4 separate regions of the Homo sapiens genome follow, and all the other regions are linked to region 1. Evidence: promoter capture Hi-C in 16 types of primary human blood cells and fetal thymus (Javierre and others, 2016). All regions are on one chromosome and are shown on one strand. Each heading gives the region's core, a stretch centred on a gene start or on the middle of the fragment in contact. The rest is flanking DNA. Distances are from core to core; before and after follow the strand shown. Region 1 holds the start of ANAPC4 (anaphase promoting complex subunit 4). Region 2 overlaps DHX15 (DEAH-box helicase 15). Region 3 overlaps DHX15 (DEAH-box helicase 15). Region 4 overlaps DHX15 (DEAH-box helicase 15).

The links. The method cuts DNA at HindIII sites, captures the fragments that hold promoters and counts their contacts. A CHiCAGO score of 5 or more calls a contact.
Region 2: a fragment that was not itself captured here is called in contact with the fragment with the promoter of ANAPC4 in region 1 in 1 of 17 cell types (megakaryocytes); the score reaches 5.5 in megakaryocytes.
Region 3: a contact is called between a fragment that was not itself captured here and the fragment with the promoter of ANAPC4 in region 1, in 6 of 17 cell types (fetal thymus, naive CD4 T cells, total CD8 T cells and 3 more). The highest score is 9.0, in fetal thymus.
Region 4: a contact is called between a fragment that was not itself captured here and the fragment with the promoter of ANAPC4 in region 1, in 3 of 17 cell types (fetal thymus, non-activated CD4 T cells and total CD8 T cells). The highest score is 6.6, in fetal thymus.

Annotation. Positions count from the first base shown.
Region 1 is chr4:25,375,918-25,378,548 of GRCh38, forward strand. It overlaps ANAPC4 (anaphase promoting complex subunit 4), which reads left to right and starts at 1,346. Exons shown (of 29, transcript NM_013367.3): 1 at 1,346-1,427; 2 at 1,501-1,639. The coding sequence starts at 1,511. RefSeq lists a silencer at 1,049-1,468 and enhancers at 1,589-1,648, 1,679-1,748. The HindIII fragment of the contact is 5,076 bases long and covers 1-2,631 here.
Region 2 is chr4:24,532,941-24,535,571 of GRCh38, forward strand. It overlaps DHX15 (DEAH-box helicase 15), which reads right to left. Exons shown (of 14, transcript NM_001358.3): 12 at 1-114. Among named protein-coding and RNA genes, the nearest start is that of MIR573, 14 kb to the left of the region's middle. The HindIII fragment of the contact is 1,169 bases long and covers 755-1,923 here.
Region 3 is chr4:24,550,869-24,553,499 of GRCh38, forward strand. The region is part of intron 5 of DHX15 (DEAH-box helicase 15); the gene reads right to left. Among named protein-coding and RNA genes, the nearest start is that of MIR573, 32 kb to the left of the region's middle. RefSeq lists an enhancer at 2,322-2,631. The HindIII fragment of the contact is 3,436 bases long and covers 1-2,631 here.
Region 4 is chr4:24,567,412-24,570,042 of GRCh38, forward strand. The region is part of intron 3 of DHX15 (DEAH-box helicase 15); the gene reads right to left. Among named protein-coding and RNA genes, the nearest start is that of DHX15, 16 kb to the right of the region's middle. The HindIII fragment of the contact is 520 bases long and covers 1,030-1,549 here.

The DNA.
Region 1 (2,631 bases), core at 96-2,595:
CATCAGATGAGTTCTGATTTACAAGTCTGCCAGGCTGGCCTGTGAGCCTCTGGGCAGAGTTCCCGTCCCATGCATTGCTGTAGCCTCAGTTCCTCCACATAGTAAATGCCCAAGTACCTATAGAAGAAATCGTGTGTGAGCCCACACTCTTTTTTTATATTTTAGAGACGGAGTCTGGCTCTGTTGCCCAGGCTGGAGTGCAGTGGCACAATCTCGGCTCACTGCAAGCTCCGCCTCACTGCAAGCCCCGCCTCACTGCAAGCTCCGCCTCACTGCAAGCTCCGCCTCCCGGGTTCACGCCATTCTCCTGCCTCAGCCTCCCCAGTAGATGGGACTACAGGTGCCCGCCACCATGCCTGGCTACTTTTTTGTATTTTTTAGTAGAGACGGGGTTTCACCATGTTAGCCAGGATGGGCTCTATCTCCTGTCCTTGTGATCCGTCCGCCACGGCCTCCCAAAGTGCTGGGATTACAGGCGTGAGCCACCGCGCCCGGCCCTGAGCCCACACTCTTTATTCGTTATGACGGTGCTGCAACTACCAATAAGTTGTGAGGGTTAAATGGGATGAGATGTCACAGTATTATTTGCCTGTTAGGGAGGTTTTAGGGCACGCGCCTCTTCTCTCCAAATTGGAATCACCCAAAGAGTTTTAGTAAATACTGGGCCCATCCAGGGTTAATTTTCTTCTAATTGGTTTGGGGTGCTGCTTGGACAGGGGGACTTTTAAAATTCTATACTGACCCACCAGGACTGACATGAGAACTACTCGCTTAGTAACTGTTAGAGGAGGCGCCAGCTGATCAGGACCTAAAGTTCATATTCTTTTTCATCTCCCCGTTGTCGCTGAAGCCTACCCCATAAACCCCTACCGTCCCTTTGCCCACAGCAGAGAATTTCCGGGAAAACGGGAAAGGTATGCAAGCATGCCCACACACGTGCACACACGGGTTCCCAAAAGACCTGCGTGTGGCCGCAGGGGCCTGCCCCGCCCTTCTCGGGCCCTTTCAGGTCCCGGCGCCCAGCGATCCCACCAGCACCTGGGTCCGGCGCGCGGCTCCCTCCCTCTCCGCGCCCCTCGGGGCTCCCTGCCCCGCCCGCGTGCCCCACCCTTCCTAGCTCTGCCCCATCGCTGCTCCCTGCCCCGCCCACGGGCCCCATCCTACCCCCACCTCGATCCGCCCCTCGCTCCTCCCTGCCCCGCCCACCGCGCCCCGTCCCTGTCCGCCCCTTCTGGCTCTCAGCACCCCCAAGACCGGTGCGCGCCCCGCCCCTCCTCCTCCTCTCGCGAGGCAGTCCCGACGCCGGAAGTGCCTGGAGCGCGCGACAGCGGCGGGGCGGGGCGGCCTGGAGGCTGTGGCGCGCGGCCGGCAGAGGGAGGGGAGAGGCCACTGGGGCCGTGTTAGTCTGCCGGTGGGGACTCTTGCAGGTACAGGCGCGGTCGGGGCTCCTCGTGGAGAGCCGGGGGCTCCTGCCGGCCTCTGACTGGGGTGTCGTTGCAGGGCCGTCCCCATGTTGCGTTTTCCGACCTGTTTCCCATCCTTCCGGGTGGTGGGAGAGAAGCAGCTCCCGCAGGAGATTATTTTCCTGGTCTGGTCGCCCAAGCGGGATCTCATTGCTTTGGCCAACACAGCTGGCGAGGTGAGTGAGCCGGCGGGAGCCCGCCTGTGCTGGGTCTGCTCCCGGGGGGCCCAAGAACACCGAGCCCGAGCCTGTTCATTCGGGCCACAGGCGGCCGGAGCCTCAGTTTCCCCTTCTGCAGACATGGCTGGCCACCTGCTACCCCTTCCCTGCCTCCCAGGACGGCAGTAAACTTTAAGTATATATGCGAAAGGTGATGTCTGTGCTATTTTCGGTACTTTTATGGCTAAAGTAACAGTTTTCACACAGCTTAACACCGTCACGCAATCCTGCTTCCCCAAGTCTTCTTCACTCATTGGTTTATTAGTTAAATGAACTTTTTAAAAAAGCCCACTATGTGCTGCTCATGAGCTAGACATAATGGTAGATGCAGGGACCCTGCCCTAAGTTTGCTTACAGTTTTAATAGCAGTAGGAAGAGTTATTGTCAAACTTCAGCTGCAAATGTGCCTGCATGTAGCTGCCACACAGGATATATTTAAGAACCTGGCTTCTCTTGTCCACGTTTTATAGTACGGGTTGGATAACCACCCTCCACTAAAAATACCTCTAAATTGGACAAGGAAGGCATGCATTGGATTCCAGACAGAACGTGCATGGGTGTTATCAGCATTTCTTGTTCACATAAAACTTCATCGAGTATAAACCAGTTGTACCCAACTTTCTGCTGAGAGTTATTACCTGCCAGCCATTTTGTAAGGAAACCTTCACCTGTGCATCTTTCCGCCTCTGGCTTGAGAGTTATCTGGCCATGTGAGAGTTGTATAGAGCCAAATTTGGAAACTAGGTGATAAGGAAATCTTAGCACCCTGCAGACTGTAGTCTGCACCATGTTATCTACCATGATCCAGTCGCCAGGGTATTGATGTCTAATTTTTCAGGGCCCTCCATGAAATCTAGCTAGTCTCCCTCCGCTGCCGGGATGCTTTGAAACTCTGTTGTGGCTCTAGAGAGCAGCAGGTGGTACCGTCACAGAAGTAGGAGGGAAGGTAG
Region 2 (2,631 bases), core at 89-2,588, 840 kb before region 1:
GAGGCAAATTAAATCTGTCCATAATTCGAGATAGCTGCTGGCGTACATTGTCTGCGGACATCAGGGACCTGTAGTTAATGAAGTTGTCATAACACCACTGAACCGATTCATGATCTAAAAAGGTAGAAGGCGGGGAGAAAAGAAGGCACCATGAATCACCCACACAGGAATGTTCTCTAATTAAAAAAATTGTTATAAAGAATAAGCTAAATAAACCAGAAAGGAGATTTACCCACAACATTTTCTTTAAATGAACTGCAATGTTACCAACTTTCTCAAAGATCTGTAGTGTGATTCAACATTAGAAACAGTAACAAGGCTTTTGGATTTGGATGCCAAAACAATGCTTTTGAATTAACTGTTTTTAGTGAATTACTTCTCCCATTAACATCCACCTGGTTGTTTCCAAAAGATGGTCTATCAGATAAGGGAAGGCTGGAAGTATTTGGTAAAAGTCATGGCCTGTTCATTTTCAATGAAACTACAGCTTTAGATTAAGATAACTGCAAACAATTGTTGTGTATTGTTCTTTATGCCTGACACAGAGCACCTCAGACTTAAAGACGGCAAAGTTTTATTGCGACACACGTGTCTCTCAGCAATTTATGAGCAAGTCCTGAAACAGAAGAAAGTTTACAAGGATGCCCGAAACCTCCACTCATGTTTAATAAACAAGACCTAAGTCTAAGCACTTCAAGTAATTTTATTACATGTATTATCAAAAGGATATTTCTCCACTGATGAATCCTTGATAAGCTTCCAACTAGCCTAGTGTTGCTCACTTAAAGAGCTCAACCTGTAGCATCATGAAAGAAATTTTACAGTGACATCTTTCATGTGCCAAAGACAGTCATGGCAAAGAATTGCATTATTTATTTCAGAGGACCTTTGATAAATAAAACTAACAGGGTTATTGTGAAATGGGAGAGAGAAAACAAAAATTAAAACTGTTGATCCTTCTCTTGCTACTGTGATGTATGCTTATCTTCAGCATACTCTTTTCTCTTTGGTTCTAGGATTCTACCAGTTATAGTGTATAACTCTGCCTTAATGTTTTTTAGACATAACAAATATATAAGTACATTTTTATCCATTACAAAATGCATCCCCATTTCAGAAATTAAGGATGGGTGAGGTGGAGATAGGAAATAGATTTTTGAATTAAAGAATACAATAACATATTAGAACACCCATTAATTAATCCATCTGGAATGAGAAATAAAAGTTAACCATCTGAAGCCATTGACATTTAAATCAAAGCACTGAATATCTTTGGGAGCTGAAACAGCACACCTTAGAGGTAATTTTACTTATGCTGATGCTCTGTAACAAGCTGAAAGGCAGAAAAATGCCCAAGCTGGACAATAAAAAGGCAAATTTTTGAAAAGGTTGTTGATTTGCAGACTATGGCTTGAAATGTAGCTTTTTTGTGTGGTTCTCAATTTTTAGAATTCATGTACTACAGATGGAAAAATTGCAAATCTAAGTTATTTGTTAAGAACAAATGACTAGTAACTAACATCTGATGGTTCTACTGTATTTCTAAACTTGTGAGAAATAATTGGGTAAATGGGAAAATTAAATCTAAAACTGGAAACATTAATATAATTCTAGCTGTTTATCTCTCACCAATACAGTAAACCACCCCTAAGATCTAAAGCCAAACCATTTGTCTGATTTTTAGAGAGAAATCTCCCCTCCCTAGACAGATCAAGGTACTGCAAAATAACTTGAATCTAGTTTTCGATTTCAAAGGGTTATTTACATAAATAGTATTAAGACAACATTTTAATTGACATGACATTTTAGCTTCACTATGTAATCAACTATTGTCTCTAATGCAAAACATCTTGACCAGTATCTGAAACACGCTTTTTTCAAATATACTCAATGTTTCAATTAATAACATACAACCATTTAAAAAGCTTTCGTGAAAATATTCCAAATATTTTCATATCCATATATATATGGATATATCGAAATAATAACACGTGGGGATCTGGCAAAGTTTTTTGCTTTTTTTTTTTTTAAGAGCTTCTCTTATTTGAAAAGGTGGCAATCAGTGATTAAAGGCTAAATCCTCACCTTTAACTAATAAGGACAGCTCTACCAAATGTCAAGTCATCACATACTGCAAACCCCTAAAAACCACCAATGGCTAATCATCCCTTTGGCAGTGAGAGATCATAGTACCTCTCACTAATAATGCATTTCTTGGGCAAACAATAGACTTGAACTTTTCCACCTCTTGTTTACAGGCCACTTGTAGCCTAAGAACCATCATTCATACTTGTCCGTTTTTCTATTTTATTAGTTGTATTTTGATGTAGAAAGTAGTATTTTGATGTATTTATCAGAAATAGGTCATACATCTAGTGAGTGGATAACACCATTTTAACTTACTACATCCCCTCTGACTGAATCTGTTCCTTCTCAAGGCTTTAATAGGTTATGTATCTCTTGGTCACCCAGCATGTTTCGCATAGAAGAGGAATACAGTAGGTTTTTTGAGTAGATCTGTCTAATCAGGGGTAAGTCTTTAACGCTAGGTAATACCAGTATTTGGATACAAGAAAGATTAAATAACTGTTCTAAGGTAAACCATGTGCTGGTCTTCAGCCTGTGGTTTCA
Region 3 (2,631 bases), core at 81-2,580, 830 kb before region 1:
TTAAAACAACTGGCAGCAAAGTAGGTTTGTTTGAACTAGCATCATCACAAAGCAGTGAGTAATGTGTTGTGCTGTGATGCTGCAAGGTTACGTTCAGCTCCACTATAATCTTACGGGAGCAGCACCACAGCTATCTGAGAAGTTTGTCTTGACCAAAACGTTGTTATGTGGCACATGACTATATTCTAACACATGTGCATTCAAGAGGAGACATAATGAATATCAAGACGGAAAAAAAGAGAGAGACAGATTATGTATGATAGCTCTGGGAGAGGCAAAGGAACTTAAAAATGGAAGGCAGCACTGCGGACAAATGTATTCTAAATTTTATTGAAGTATTAATTCAATTAAACCCAGAAGTATGTAAAACGCTTATTATACACTAGGCAGCCTGTCCAATAAATGACCCAATCAGAAGCTACCCTTGTCAACAAAGTGCGTGTTTTTTTCAAAGGACAATGATACTAAACGGTGAGGAAGAATTTTAGGACATTTACTTTATATTTTTTTAATGTCCAACTGTGTCTCTATATCAAAAAACACAACGTTCTTAAACACAGTAAGAACAAATAAATTACTTTTCACTTATTTCAAACACATCAGTTTTTTTTAAAGGTTATCTGTCTCAAAAATTGTGACACAGAAAACTATTAAAGATTCAATGTTACTAGATCCTCCTTTGAAATCTCAAGTTTCTAAAAGAAAATGAAAGTAGATGCTATTCATCTAAATAAAAAATATAACAAAGCGAACAAATATTTTTTGAAAATACTGCTTTCAAATGTTGTATCTAGATTAGAATGCCCCCTGCTGGCATGCAAATAAAAAATTAAGAGCTCTCCAACTTAAAAAACATTTGAACATAATATAAAACTAGGATTCCAACATTTAAGAGTATCTGCAATTTTGTTAATTTTACTGTACATAAATGAAAAATAAATGCTCAGAAATCACAAAATATCCAGATTTCACACATTAAAAATTAAGTGCTTAAATTAGACATTTGCTTTGTGATTCCAGTATTTTAAAATGACAATTCCAACTTTACTGGAGATTAGACTACCCAATCTGCTAAGTATGCAAGGAGCTAAAACAAAATGATGACTATGTAGGATATAAAGGCATCTCTAAAATGTGGAAGAAATCCCGTAACACTTAAGTTTTTAGATAAAGTCCTAAACAGCTTTAAAACTTGCAATAAAAATTTTCCCTGAGGTTTGCCAAACTTCCAAGAAGTCAACACTATCAGCTGAGAATGCCACAAAACTTATCTGCATTCATCAGAATATAAACAGAAACAGGTAGTGGAGGAAAAGAAGTTTCAACAGCAGCCATCTGCTTAGTCATTAGCAATACTGAGAATAAAGACAGACAGTTCAGGAGTTTTTGATTTGAGAAAAGATTTTTAACTCCAAAAGCAGCAATATGTTAGTAAATTAATCTGGACCTTACCAATTAACTCACTGCATGTTGAAAAAAAAATTTACTAAGCAAAATTAAAAATAAAATTATTTAATTACAATCACTCTTATCTAATTACTATCTAGGCAACACTTTAAACTGTTCTCTCTCCCTCCCAAATTAACTCATGTGACTACAGAAGCACTTTTATTTAGTGGTCAGAATATGTTCTTAAAAACCAGTTTTAAATTTTTATGAGATTACTCAATTTCATGGAGGCTATTCAAATTTATGAAGAAAGGAGTACTGATTTCGCAGTTGCATTTAACTTACCAAGTAAAAATAATGAAGGTTCACAAAAATGAGAAGGTAATATTTACTTTAGACCAGCTCTACTACTAAATACAACAAATGAAATGTAAACAAAACGTTAGGTTTTCTGCTACCTTCTCCCCAAAACTCTTCAAATTCAAGACTGGGAATCTAAAGATAACTTAAAGAAGCAATGGTATGCAAAAAAACAGCTGACAACTAGAGCAGCATTTTATTTCATGAAAGACACTCTAGCATACATCTGAAAACCCTTCGGCTTACTCCCTTCCTTTCCCCAGCTGTGGGATTCACAGAAAATACCGCACAAAGTTGTCTCAGAGAAAAACCTTTCGGGTCCTTAACCATGAGGCCATTTGATATTTCTGATAGAATCTCAATACGCTTATGTTATCTGAGAATGATGACAATTTTAAATAGTGATTTAAAAAATAAAAATATGGCCAGGTGCAGTGGCTCACGCCTGTAATCCCAGCACTTTGGGAGGCCGAGGCGGGTGGATCACCTGAAGTTGGGAGTTCAAGACCAGCCTGACCAACACGGAGAAACCCCATCTCTACCAAAAATACCAATTAGTTGGGCATGGTGGCGCATGCCTGTAATCCCAGCTACTCGGAAGGCTGAGGCAGGAGAATCACCTGAACCTGGGAGGCAGAGGTTGCGGTGAGCCGAGATCGCGCCACTGCACTCCAGCCTGGGCAACAAGAGCAAAACTCCATCTCAAATAAATAAATAATAAAACAAAATAAATAAAAATAAAAATATACTATGCACTTTGGAGGAAATGAGAAACTAGAGACCAGACACAAGAGGACAAAACGATTATCCCAACAGCCTCAATACTACATTACAGCACAAATGCTGTTTATATGCCATCAAAAAAGCATTTTGGGGCCAGGT
Region 4 (2,631 bases), core at 40-2,539, 810 kb before region 1:
ACTAAAAATACAAAAATTAGCTGGGCGTGGTGGCGGGGGCCTGTAATCTCAGCTACTTGGGAGGCTGAGGCAGGAGAATGGCTTGAACCCGCGAGGTGGAGGCTGCAGTGAGCCGAGATCGTGCCACTGCACTCCAGCCTGGGCGACAGAGCAAGACTCCGTCTCCAAAAAAAAAAAAAAAAAGTTACAACCACAGACAAATGCTTCTTAAAATCCACTGCAAAAGGGCTACACCAGAAGCCAACAACCTCTCCTTCCTTACATCAAAATGAATCAAGGTATTTTACACTGACTAGTCACAAATACAGCAATATATTGTTCCCTGACTGGTAAGCTCTTTAGGTATCTCTTTGGGTTTTTTCTTCATAATTTCCACTCCAAGAAAACAGGAAAGTAAGTATGTTGCAAAAAGAATGCTTCAGAAGAAAAGGATGGGGACAAGCAAACACATAAAAAAGGAAATATAAAAACCATTTAGGAGTGGCAGCTTTGTAAACTTACTTGTTCACTGGGATGGGGTAGCCATTTAAGGCTAGACTAACAGAGTGTGCACTAAGTTATACCAGATCCAATCTTCCGAAAAGAGCACAGTGTCAGATCTATAACCTAAAATTTATGAATAGGTATCCCAAACACTGAAGAAACTATCTTATAGACCCTTAATCTATATGCGGACAATTTAAAGATACTTTATTTAGCTAAAATGCTCTCAAACTATGGTTAAATTCTGTGCTCCTCAAACATAATCTGCCTAAGTTAGCCTCTTTACCACCCTAGAGTGAAAATTAAAGTTCGCCCTGGCTACACAATGGATATATAAGCATTTTATATCTATATATGATAAGAGCTACATTTAATGAAGCATTCCCATTAGTTAAGTTCTTCCTATCAAATAGCAAAGTTACATTTGAAATTTTTAAATTTTAAGCTAACTTATTGTAATAATACACTCCTTTACTTATATTACTTAAAGGCAACACCAGGTTAGCTCCTAGAAGAAACCCCAATAAGCTTACCCTGTCTTAAGTAAGCTTTTACAAGTAGTTATAACCTCTAGAAAATGCTCCATTAAAAAAATCACAATGCCAAAAATACTTCATTTGAACTATAAAATCTGTTACTTGTCATTCCCTATGAAGTGAACCAAAATCTTTCAGAGGTACTCATCTTTTGAAAGCCTATCCTCCACCCACTTCCTACTACACATACACACAGCACCAATATTGCATAACTTTCTTGTATCCCAATTTCCAAATTCTGTTCTCAACTGTGGCTTACCAAAAAAATTCAATGCAATGTGAATCAAGTCAGAATAATGATATTCCTCCTAAAGATGAGTAAAATCTCCCCCTTATTATCCTCAAGTCCTTGACATTACCTGCATTTTAAAGTAATACAACATAATGAGCTATGATTTTGCTTATGCAATTATTGTCAATTATACTGTAATTACCAGTGATCAATAACGTATCACTGAACAACTACAAGAATTTATTCAGTGAAGATTAAGGTTTAAGCCAAAAATATGTCCCATAAAGTCATAAGGATAAGCTTATTTAAATATTTTAAAGTTCAACTGCTATTAAATATCACGCTGAATAAAAAGTTCTAATAAAATGAGATAAATCAAAGAATTAGAAAAAACTGACACAAATGTTGAATGAAAACTGGATATTTTGATCCAATAAATTGTTTTAAGTTATGATAGCTCTATTTTAAGAAACTATCTCAGAGATACACACTGAAATATTTATATATATAATTATTTGGTATCTAAGACTGCTTCGAAATAACATGGGACAGGGAAATAAATTAAGATTGGATATGAAATAAATAAGACTGAAATAGTTAAAAGTCGATGATAAACACATGCAGTTCATTATTCTATTCAATTTCTGCGGCTGGGTGTAGTGGCTCACGCCTGTAATCCCAGCACTGTGGGAGGCTGAGGCGGGCGGATCATGAGGTCAGGAGTTAGAGACCAGCCTGGCCAACATAGTGAAACCACAACTCTACTAAAGATACAAAAAGTTAGCCAGGCATGGTGGCGCACACCTATAGTCCCAGCTACCTGAGAGGCTGAGGCAGGAGAATCGCTTGAACCCGGGAGGCGGAGGTTGCAGAGAGCCGAGATGGCGCCACTGCACTCCAGCCTGGGCAACAGAGTGAGACTCCATCTCAAAAAAAAAAAAAAAAAAAAAAAAGAGAGACTCTTGTTTCATTTATCCCATTAACACTATATATCTCTCTGACAACAAAGACTCTGACAACAAAGACTCATATCACTGCCTACACAACGCTCCAAAATGGTTTTTAAAAACCTCAGGGAGAAGATCACATAGATATGATTTTTCTTTTTTTTTAAAAGAAATGTGGTCTTGCTATGTTGCTCAGGTTCAAATGCAGTAGCTATCACAGGCATGATCAGAGCACACTGTAGCCTTGAACTCCTGGCCTCAAGCAATAATCCTGCTTCAGCCTACGAAGTGGCTGGGAATAAACAGGCATATGCCACTGAGCCCCACTCAAACAAGTCACATTTAAAAGGACTTAAATATCACATAAATACAGAATAAGCAGAAGCAACCAGAGGGAAGACTTGAGAAAGAATCATCATCAGGTAGCATACAT